Linked DNA regions of Homo sapiens: all the other regions are linked to region 4. Evidence: promoter capture Hi-C in 16 types of primary human blood cells and fetal thymus (Javierre and others, 2016). All regions are on one chromosome and are shown on one strand. The core of a region is centred on a gene start or on the middle of the fragment in contact, and the rest is flanking DNA. Distances in the headings are between cores, read along the strand shown.

Region 1 (2,700 bases), core at 110-2,609, 220 kb after region 4:
ACAACCATATCTTCTGAGATATATCCAGGCTTTTCCTTCTGCATTCTCTAGTTGGTTTCACCTTCGGCCCTGGACAGTCAGGCTGGGTCTTTGCTAGAGAAAACTTAGGTTTTCCAACCACAGGCCTGCTCCACAAAGCAGCGGTTTCAGCTCCTGAGAAGTTCCCTCCTATTTGCACTCACTAGGAAGCCAGGGGCCCCTGGTCCAAGCCCGTCTCAAAGAAAAATGTCAAACCTTTCAAACTAGTTATTTTATTAAACGATATTAACACACATTTCAAAAGGATTTCATTGTTGTTGCTTCTAAAGCATGTACTTGTTTTGTTTTCCACACCGAACACGTGAGAATATCAATCCAACATATCTATTTTAGATCTTAACAGGCGCCCCCGCCCACTTAAAAAAAATAGTGGGGGAACTGGGGAAAGCAGTAATTTACAGCGGCTTCAAAACAGTAACAGCTGAAGCTCAATTCTGCAGGAACCGGTAACTTCAGGATTGAGAGTGAATATCCTGCCATTAGGAAGTTTATCGTATTCACATTATCTCGATAGGTTTGCTGGACCCATATATATCACAAACATTTTATTCCTGGTATTGGAAAGTATAAAAGTCCTATTCTCTGCTTATTTTCCCCTCCCTGGAATCAAACCAAATTCTATTTACTCTCAACTTTTGAGAGGGTAGAGGGGAGCAGGGAGAGAGCTCTCATCTAAGCTGACTGAAGAGTAAACTCTTTCAAAATACTTAAGGACCCTATTTCTGAACTGTATCACTGAACTTTAAGTGGTACTAGTGTATTCACAACCCCTACCAATTCTCTGTCTGTGATTTTACAGTGAGTACCAAGGACCTTACAACTTCTCACATTCTGCTTCCATATGAATCATGTCCTTGCTAAGACACACTATGTTATGCTTTCTTTAAAAAATATCTTGTTTATTTGTTTAAACTCAGGTTGAAATACAAAAGTCAGAGCATGGTCACGGAGTTTTAAATCACAGACACAGAAAGAATAAAACCCCTTTCTTTCACGTTATGAATACCAGAACTGTCTTTTCTGTTTCACTATTTATCACATATATACACACTGTCATCTTCATTTACTGATGTAAATGTAAATTTTAAGATTTCCTTAAAATTAATAGCTGACAGTCTCATACAAATCCTCACTTCCATCCTAAAACAAACATATTGAGGATTTTGTGGCTTAAAAAACAAAAAAGTACCCCACAAAAACCCAACTCCTTAAAAGCCCACCTTCGAAACTGTCCAACAAAGTCTTCCTTTCATGTATTAACCATCATACTTTTGAGGACAATTATCCCGCCCCAACGTTCAGGAAGCCACTTTCCTGACATCCCCACATTTTCTGATAAAAATTAAATGGTCAGAGAGCCTTATCAAGTAAACACTACTTTTAGCTTAAACAAGAGCAGCAAAGAGAATTCACATTCTTTTATTCTAGAATGAAAAACATCCCATTTAATTTCTGCAAAAAAAAAACCTATTTCAATTTTGAAAGTCAAATATCATTTCCCCACCTCCCACCCCATTTTCTCTTATGCTTTTCCCTAACAAATGTCTTAGGACTCAATATAACTATACTTTCTTTTCTTTGCTACACTACATACCCCATCCCACACGTAAGGTCATGGTATCATGCATTTTTGTGGGGAGAGCTACAGGGCAGAGAGGGTCGAGGAAAGAAAGAACAGTTGGCTTAAGACCAGACAGGCATTAAGAAGATGAATGACCTGCAGCATCCTAACCCCAGAACACATGGCGAGCCCAAATAAATAACAGAATAAATTACGCAAAAACTCCCAAATCATGATGTGCACCTGGTTTATGCTGCTCTTTCTCTGAAAAGTTCATTCTGAGAGAATCATTTTCTGTCACTACATTGCCCACCCTCCCCCATCTTTAATATTCTACTGGAGGAAAAAGCAACCCCATACTTCCTATAGTTAGTTCTATACTAACTTGGAAGAAAATATGAAACTTGCCAGAATTCTCTGGAAAACTAAACACATACTGTTTTACTCATCTAGCTGGAGATTATCAGTTGAGTATGCCTTGGGGTAAGACACTAAATTAAAAAAAAATTGTAGTAAAGCAACATTTACTTTTCAGTGTCCCTAGATATAAAGATATAAACACTCAAAGTACAGTGATTGTCTATTTCCCAAGTACTAGATGTAGAAATACAAACAAGTCTTTCAGTCCAGGGAGAAGGAAAGCACTTATCTTGCATGTAAAACAACTAAGGGCAGAAATGGTCTTTATTTCCTATTGGGAGCGAGAGGTGGGGGTAAGACTTGAGCCTTGAAATGGGATAGACACATGTGTATAATATAAAGGAAAATGCTACTGAATCTCCTCCTTTAAAATATCAAGAATAGGGGTGAATAACACGACTGAGGCAAGGGGAAAAGGAAGATAAAGACAAATATTTCTTTCTTTAATAGTTAACCTTTGTTGAAAACCACCAATAAATATCACTTACATTAGGGAGGCACCATGGTAAAATTAATGTCTACTTCTTATATTTAAAAATGCAGGGATAATATTTCTGTTGCACCTTTGTATCAATAGTCAACTGTAGTGACTGTCTTTCTGGCCACAGCAGAAGAAAAACTGAGGGAGATAAAGTCAAAAAGGAAAAGCAAGAGGCATGAGCTTGGTGCAAGACATGTGA
Region 2 (2,781 bases), core at 101-2,600, 240 kb after region 4:
TAATTTTTGTATTTTTTGTTGAGACAAAATTTCGCCATGTTGGCTAGGTTGATCTCGAACTCCTGACCTCAGGTGATCCGCCTGCCCCAGCCTCCCAAAGTGCTGGGATTACACGTGTGAGCCACTGTGCCCAGCCAAGAAGCATTATTTTTAAAAAGATATGAATACATTAGAATCTAGCTTTTTGCTTTTGATATAACTCAGTAGCTTATAGTAGACTAATGCTCCCATCAAGAACAAGTAGAAAAGCCAGATACACAGACACACTTGTTTGAATATACTGGAGAGTGCTAAGGCCACCAAAAACTAAGTGGCAAATACTATCAGAGGGAAAGCATGGAGAGCTAAGCTGACATTATTTTCTCTTAGGATTCTGCTGATTCTGGGGAGCTAGGCAAGAAGCTGAGAATTAAGGCAAAAAGGACAAGAGAGGGCCACTATTAAATAAAAAGAAAAAAAGCAGAGCTTTTAACAGTCTTGCTGGTCTTAACAGGCAAAAATTAGAGGACTGAAAGGCCAAGATTCTGATGAAAGAGAGAACTGGCTCAACAATTTTTCCTTCAAGATATTTGCTGAATTCTGAAGCTGCTTGAGAGGGAAGAAGCCAAGCAGAAAACCTTGGAAAAAGCAGTGGTCTCATAGTGATGAGGAAACAAGGACTAGAGAGTTCAAATCATGCCATGGAGAAGGGGGCTTAGTGATCATTCCAGGCTCTCTGTGGGAAAAATCTACATTCCAGAAGCTGGAGTGAACCAGAGGTGGAACAAGGCTTGCTTAAACTGCAATTCAGCCTCGAGTCAGTTAGGTTTCAGATTTAATTAATATGACCAGCCTCAATATCTGCCTAGCAAAACAAGGGTGAACTGTCTCTAAAGGAAGAAAAATCATCCAGAGACTCCATAATCTTTTAATGTTCAGCATTCGATAAAAAATTAGCAGGCATGCTAAGAGATAGGTCCAAATGGCTAAAAAGAAAATGCAGACACTACATTAGCAGCTACCTCTGGGCACTAAACAAAACAAAACAAAAACACCAAACACCACTAACATACCCGTAACAGGTGAAGCCAATATTGGAACTATATGACAAAAACCAAACAGCTATGATTAATATGTTCATGAAAATAGTGAAAAATTTCTTTCCCTTCCTCTGTGAGCAATTTAGTCCACAACCCATTAGCTGGAGCTGAGGGAAAAAACTCAGTGGCTTAGAGAGAATGGACCCAAAAATGAGAAAAATGTCTGCATGGGAGGGAGGCATTGCAAAGGATGTTGGAGTCTAAGCAGGATAAAAAGAAAACCCATAAAGGTGGTTGGAGAGAGATGGAAGTGCTGGGAGACTGGCCACAACTGATTAAGTAAAAACACTGAGGCCAGGCGCGGTGGCTCACGCCTGTAATCCCAGCACTTTGGGAGGCCAAGGAGCACAGATCATGAGGTCAGGAGTTCAAGACCAGCTTGACCAATATGGTGAAACCTCGTCTCTACTAAAAATACAAAAATTAGCTGGGCGTGGTGGTGTGCGCCTGTAGTACCAGCTACTCAGGAGGCTGAGGCAGGAGAATCGCTTGAACCCGGGAGACAGAGGTTGCAGTGAACCAAGATTGTGCCACCGCGCTCCAGCCTGGGCAACAGCACGAGGCTCCGTCTCCAAAAAAAAAAAAAAAGTAAATATATTGAAGACAAGGGAGCAAGGTTTTACACTGTTAGAAAAGTAATTAGTAGTGTAAAAAAGTGGTGCCAGTGGCTCACGCCTGTAATCTCAGCACTTTGGGAGGCAGAGGCAGGCGGATCACCTGAGGTCAGGAGTTTGAGACCAGCCTGGCCAACATGGTGAAACCCCATCACTGTTAAAAATATAAAATTAGGCAGGCGTGGTGGCGAATGCCTGTAATCCCAGCTACTTGGGAGGCTGAGGTAGGAGAATTGCTTAAACCTGGGAGGCGGAGGTTGCAGTGAGCCGAGATCGTGCCACTGCACTCCAGCCTGAGCAACAAGAGTGGAAAGTTCGTCTCAAAAAAAAAAAAAAAAAAAAAAAAAGGGGATATGTCAAAAGAACACAGAAAGGAGCTCACATTGACCAAAACTTTGTCAAACTGAGCATCAAAGTAAATATTAGTAGTAATGAATTAAAACAGTGAGTAAATAGGATTCAAGTCCATTCATATAAATAAATGAATACATCGAAAGTCTGGTAAGGAACAAGATATTTACATAGTTTCAAAATACTTCCTCACAAAACATTCATTAATTGGTATATTAGTTTCTTAGGGCAGTGGTTAATTAAGTACTACAAAATGAGTGGCTTAAAACAACAGAAATTTATTGTCTCTGAAGGCTAGTGGTCCAAAATTAAGATGTCAGCAGGCTGTGCTCTCTCTGACACTGGGCAGAATTCTTCCTTGCCATTTCCTGGTTTCTGGTGGTGCCCATCAATCCTTGATGTTTTTGGCTTGTAGCTGCATGGCTTCAATATCTGCCTATGCTGTCACATGATGTTCTCCCTGTGCTTTTGTCCAGTTTCTCAGTTTCTCTCTCTCTCTTTTTTTTTTTTTTTTTTGAGACAGAGTCTTGCTCTCTTGCCCAGGCTGGAGTGCAATGGTGTGATCTCGGCTCACTGCAACCTCTGCCTCCTGGGTTCAGGCGATTCTCCTGCCTCAGCCTCCCAAGTAGCTGGGATTACAGGCACCCGCCACCATGCCTGGCTAATTTTTCCTATTTTTAGTATAGACGGGGTTTCACCATATTGGCCAGGCTGGTCTTGAACTCCTGACCTCAAGG
Region 3 (2,700 bases), core at 9-2,508, 170 kb after region 4:
AAAAAAAAAAAAAATCACAGATCCCCACAAATCTTTCCATGGGCCCTGCTAGGCAAGCAGGCCATAGGGGAAGACGTTTGGGGTAAATGCTTCAGCCTTTTTGGCTCCAGTCTAGGGCCAAAGGGCAAGCCTTTGAGTTCTACAAGGTTTCATTTTGGGGACAAGGAAAACAAAATTCCACATCTATTTTCATTTACTTCATCTGAGAAAGGAACAAAAGGCAGCAGCCTGCCCACCAAGCCCCCATTTTGGGGCTGACCTAATTACCCAGCTTCTCTCCCACACTCAGATGGCTGAACGCTGCTGGAGGAAATCTTCTAATTCTGCTGGTTTCTGCCAATGCACACGTATGGTTTCTAATCCCAGCTGGGCCTTTAACACTACTTGGCAGCTCTTACTGTACCAGATAAACACTCACACCCCGTTCCCACAATGGTCATTCCAACCCTTCTTTAATGATTCATTAAGCTTTAAAGTTTCCATGTGATAGCAGAAGCCCAGCTGCACATATTTCAATTCACACCTTTCACGGATTTATCCTGCTTCTCCCTCCACCTGTGCTCTAGATCCTTTGATTTTTTTTTTTTTTTTTTTTTTTGCTATTTATTTAGTGGCTCCTGTGCCTGTCATTGGGCTAGGCTCTGGGATGCCTGTCATAGTCTCTGCTCTGGTGGAGCAAATAGCCCTGAGACAAAGACCATCATTCAATAAATATTAATAATTACAAGTGCCAGGCGCAGTGGCTCACGCCTGTAATCCCAGCACTTTGGGAGGCCGAAGCAGACGGATCAAGAGGTCAGGAGATTGAGACCATCCTGGCTAACATGGTGAAATCCCATCTGTACTAAAAATACGAAAGAAAATTAGCTGGGCGTGGTGGTGGGCACCTGTAGTCCCAGTTACTACTCGGGAGGCTGAGGCAGGAGAATGGCGTGAACCTGGGAGGCGGAGCTTGCAGTGAACCGAGATTGCACCACTGCACTCCAGCCTGGGCGACAGAGTGAGACTCCATCTCAAAAAAAAAAAAAAAATTAATAGTAATAATAATTACAAGTGTGATGAGGACCACTCAGGGACAGTGGGGAGTGTTACAGAATGTGTTGATCTGGGGGTTTCAGGAAGGTCTCCCTGAGGAATGACATTTAAAGCTGAGACTTCAGGGATGACATGTCGGCTAGGAATGCTTTGGCCTACACATAACAGAAAACCTGACTAACAGCAAAACCATAAGGATGTTGACTGTTTCCTCAAGAAGCCCAGAAGCAAAAAGTTCCAAAGTTTTTAAGAGGCTTCACAATATCAAGAAGCAGGAGTTGACATCTTTGCAATTTTCTTCACTTCTCTCTCAGTTATAAGATGTTGCCACAGAATCAACTGTGCCTTCCTTATATAACATCATCCCAATGCAAAAAAAAAGAGAAAGGGCTCTGGTTCCTCAACAGCTCTCTTTTATAAGGGCACAAAAATTCATCCACAAGTTCCCTGGAGTCTTCCTCTTGTGTCTTTTTGGTGAAACCTGGGTCATATGCCCACCCCGGATAGGCGAAGAGGAAGAGGGTTACCATGATTGACTTAGACCAATCATGATTTCTTCCATAATACAGCGAGGACCCCACCTTCCCTGAAAATATTTGCTGCCTATTGGATGCCTCACTTGAGGGTCAATGGGACCACCAATTCTGCATATATATGACTAGATAATTCAAGCAAGTCCTCCTACCAATGAAAACTTTTATTTATTTATTTATTTACTTATACATTTTTTGAGATGGAGCCTTGCTACGTCGCCCAGGTTGGAGTGGAGTGGTGCGATCTTGGCTCACTGAAACCTCCGCCTCTCGGGTTCAAGCGATTCTCCTGCCTCAGCCTCCCGAGTAGCTGGAATCACAGGTGCCCACCACCACGCCCAGCTAACTTTTGTATTTTTAGTAGAGGTGGGGTTTCGCCATATTGGCCCCATGTTGGCCAGGTGGGTCTCAAATTCCAGGTTCCAGACCAGCCACCATGCCCAGCCTCTGGTGCTTTTAAAATGAGTTTTTCAAGCTTTTAAGTTTTTGGCCAGGCACAGTGGCCCACACCTGTAATCCCATCACTTTGGGAGGCTGAGGCGGGCAGATCACCTGAGGTCAGGAGCTTAAGACCAGCCTGGCTAACAGGGTGAAATCTCATCTCTACTAAAAATACACAAATTAGCCAGGCGTGGTGGTGGGCACCTGTAATCCCAGCTACTCGGGAGGCTGAGGCAGGAGACTCGCTTGAACCCGGGAGGCAGAGGTTGCAGTTAGTCAAGATCATACCACTGCACTCCAGCCTGGGCAACAGATCAAGACTCCATCTCAAAAATAAATAAGTAAATAAATAAAAAATAAAAATAGGCCAGGCGTGGTGGCTCACATCTGAAATCCCAGCACATTGGGAGGCTGAGCCAGGCTGATCACCTGAGGTCAGGAGTTCGAGACCAGCCTGACCAATATGGTGAAACCCCGTCTCTACTAAAAATAAAAAAAATTAGCTGGGTGTGGTGGTGGGTGCCTGTAGTCCCAACTTCTCGGGAGGGAGGCTGAGACAGGAGAATTGCTTGAACCCGGGAGGCGGAGGTTGCAGTAAGCCGAGATCGCACCACTGCAATCCAGCCTGGGTGACAGAGCAAGACTCTGTCTCAATAAATAAATAAATATATAGGCCAGGCGTGGTGGCTCA
Region 4 (2,700 bases), core at 134-2,633:
AAAACTAAGTTTTTGGCTGACTGTCATATTGTGGTCCTTAATCTTGAGATAAATCCAATAGAACTTTTGAATAAAAGCAAAAGTACAAATGTCATAATTGATTCGGTAATAAGTAAAATTTCAAAATTGATTTTGTTCATTACCTACTTAATATTTCCTTTAAATATATACTAACTGTTAAGGCCCTCTAATGCCATTTTTCTAAACAGTAATGTTTACTTTGGTATTAAAATTTGGTATGGATTCACTTTTTACTTATGTTAAAATTATACCATTTAACTGGCTCTTTTGTCATTGTGCTGTTATTAAAACAATGTTCTTCAATATTTTGACATAATGTATTAACATTTTAATATATAATGTACAATTTAAGAATTGGTGCTTTACCTTTACTATGCTTTTTTTTACAGGACAAAAAGACTGATTTTTAAAGTATGGCATTTTTTGCAGCATAAATAAAATATTGTTCAGTACGTAGGCCCTTTTATCGCTTCTAATTTTTATTTAAGTAGCAGGAAATATGGCTTCATTCATTTGAAAGGCTGGTAGGAGGATGGGGGGATAGGGAATACTAATTTTTAGATGATTTCGGTAGCTATTACTTTGCAAGAAGAGTTGAGCACACTTTCTAGAATTTTTGAGTGGTAGTATGAAAAATGCTGTGCTTTTAATGAGAAACCTGGGAGCTAGTTCCAGCCTTGCCTGCTTTCTTTGCTTTAGAAAAAGGAAGACTTAAAACTTGGTCTGTTTGCCGCTTGTAGTTTCAGCAGCCATATTCCAAAAACATACACATCCATGGGTTTGTCAGTAATAAGCGCTATAGGGAATGCTGGTACATATGCGATGGTAGAAATGTATTCATCCTGTTTAAGGTAAACCATATAAACGTACACAAACTGACCCAGATCATGTTTTTCTGGAACAGTCAAGTCAAGGATAAACTGACTGTCAGAAACAACCAATGTAAAAATATTTATTTATTTTTAGCTGTATTGCTTGGATCCCAACACATCTCACTTAATTGTCCCAGTATACGCTACTACAGCAACACACCTGCTACGCTGAAATTAACCCACAGAAACCTTTCGAGATTGGCAGCCCATGTTAGCTCACTCAGCGCTTTGATTGGCTGGTTTAATGGGGGTGGGGAGCGCAGCCCTCTTTCCTCTCTTCCACCAAGGTTCCTTCATTGGATTGACCAGCTGTCAGGTTGAACGCAAACCTGCCTCCTTTTGGTGGTGTTTGTCTGGATCGCAACAGAATAGCTGGGGGAGAGCCTCCCCCTGTGAGCTCCGATTGGCGGGACTCAACCTTGGTGATTTCTGATTGGCGCAATGAAGAAACACCAAGGTAGGTTGCCTAGTGATCCTGAGGAAGCTGATGTGTTATTCCTTCTCTGCATCGAAGGATCAGGAAGTTTGTGCTCTCTGCGTGGCTAAGTTTTTCACCTACTAGGACGGGGGTGGGGTGGGGAGAACAGGTGTCCTTCTAAAATACAGCACAAGCTACAGCCTGCGTCCAGCCATAACCCAGGAGTAACATCAGGTAAGCAACGAGAAAATTACATTTCCTAACGTCCCTTCCCCCCACCAAAAAAAACCTCTATTTTTTAAAATTATTATTTTATGGGAGGGAAAGGTTTGTATTCATTTGGGCCATTTGTTTTCTTTCAAGTAGGATTTTTAACTAGTAAATGTGCAGATGAAACTAATTTCTCAAAGAAACCGCCCCCTCTCCCCCTCCCCCCCTGCCCCGCGAAGGTTTAAAGTTTCTTGGATTGGTTTAGGAAATAGTCCCTATTCACAGTGCCAGATAGGCTTAGTGCGCTTAAGAATTTATTTCATGGTTCTCTTCCTCCTTCACTTTTCTTCCCACCTCCCATAACAAATTATATTTGAAATATACCCTTGTACAAAAAAACTTTTGTAGCTCACTTCATTTGTATTTCTATTTTAAATGTTCACATGCACTTCTGAGTATTCATTTTAATCAATATAAATTTATCGAGCAATAACAATGTTAAAGACAGTGCTAGTTGCTATGGAGAATATATAAACCCAAGAAGACAATATCCCTGTTCTTAAGAAGTTTACAGTTGAGAGACAGCTATACCAAGAGAAAGACTATAATAAATACTTTAAAGGAAGTGAGTATAAATAAAGCTCTGTGAAACAGCTGAGGGAGTGGCCATGAGACACATAGGTAATAGAAAAGAGGAGGTCACTTAAAGGCCTTCACAAGGCCTTTAAAGAATGGGTAGAATGTAAAGAGGAAGAGAAAAGGGTGAAGACCCCAGCAAGTACAGAGGAGCAGAAGCAGAAAGAAAGCATGAGACATTTTTGAGAAAAAGTCTGGCAACACTACTTATTAGGAGCAATGGGAAATATTGCTAGAGGAGTAGAAACGAGTCCAGTCATAGCAACTCTTAAATACCATTATTTTGATCTTGAAAAAGATACTCCTTTATATAATTGCTGATTTAAAATATTTGTTATATATTATCTTAAAAACTGATATCTAGATTTATATAAAATAAAGTATGCTAACTATAAACTTTATCACAAATGATTTAGTGCAGTTTCTTTTGACCGTAGTACATAGAATAAAAGACATGTTCTTTGACTTTTTTTTTTAAATTGAGAAAATTTGTTAATCTTTCAACACTCTCTTGCCAGTAATTTTTGTTTGCAGCTCCTTGTG

Evidence for each region. The method cuts DNA at HindIII sites, captures the fragments that hold promoters and counts their contacts. A CHiCAGO score of 5 or more calls a contact.
Region 1: a contact is called between a fragment that was not itself captured here and the fragment with the promoter of GOLPH3L in region 4, in 1 of 17 cell types (neutrophils). The highest score is 7.4, in neutrophils.
Region 2: a contact is called between a fragment that was not itself captured here and the fragment with the promoter of GOLPH3L in region 4, in 1 of 17 cell types (neutrophils). The highest score is 6.1, in neutrophils.
Region 3: a fragment that was not itself captured here is called in contact with the fragment with the promoter of GOLPH3L in region 4 in 1 of 17 cell types (neutrophils); the score reaches 5.6 in neutrophils.

Annotation. Positions count from the first base shown.
Region 1 is chr1:150,474,102-150,476,801 of GRCh38, reverse strand. RPRD2 (regulation of nuclear pre-mRNA domain containing 2) reads right to left here. Exons shown (of 11, transcript NM_015203.5): 11 at 236-2,700. Among named protein-coding and RNA genes, the nearest start is that of TARS2, 12 kb to the left of the region's middle. The HindIII fragment of the contact is 9,461 bases long and covers 1-2,700 here.
Region 2 is chr1:150,451,921-150,454,701 of GRCh38, reverse strand. The region is part of intron 7 of RPRD2 (regulation of nuclear pre-mRNA domain containing 2); the gene reads right to left. Among named protein-coding and RNA genes, the nearest start is that of TARS2, 34 kb to the left of the region's middle. The HindIII fragment of the contact is 9,549 bases long and covers 1-2,781 here.
Region 3 is chr1:150,526,915-150,529,614 of GRCh38, reverse strand. All of the region lies in intron 3 of FALEC (focally amplified lncRNA regulator of ECM1), which reads right to left. Among named protein-coding and RNA genes, the nearest start is that of FALEC, 13 kb to the right of the region's middle. The HindIII fragment of the contact is 1,575 bases long and covers 471-2,045 here.
Region 4 is chr1:150,695,837-150,698,536 of GRCh38, reverse strand. GOLPH3L (golgi phosphoprotein 3 like) reads left to right here and starts at 1,383. Exons shown (of 5, transcript NM_018178.6): 1 at 1,383-1,545. It overlaps HORMAD1 (HORMA domain containing 1), which reads left to right. Exons shown (of 15, transcript NM_032132.5): 15 at 1-477. The HindIII fragment of the contact is 16,001 bases long and covers 1-2,700 here.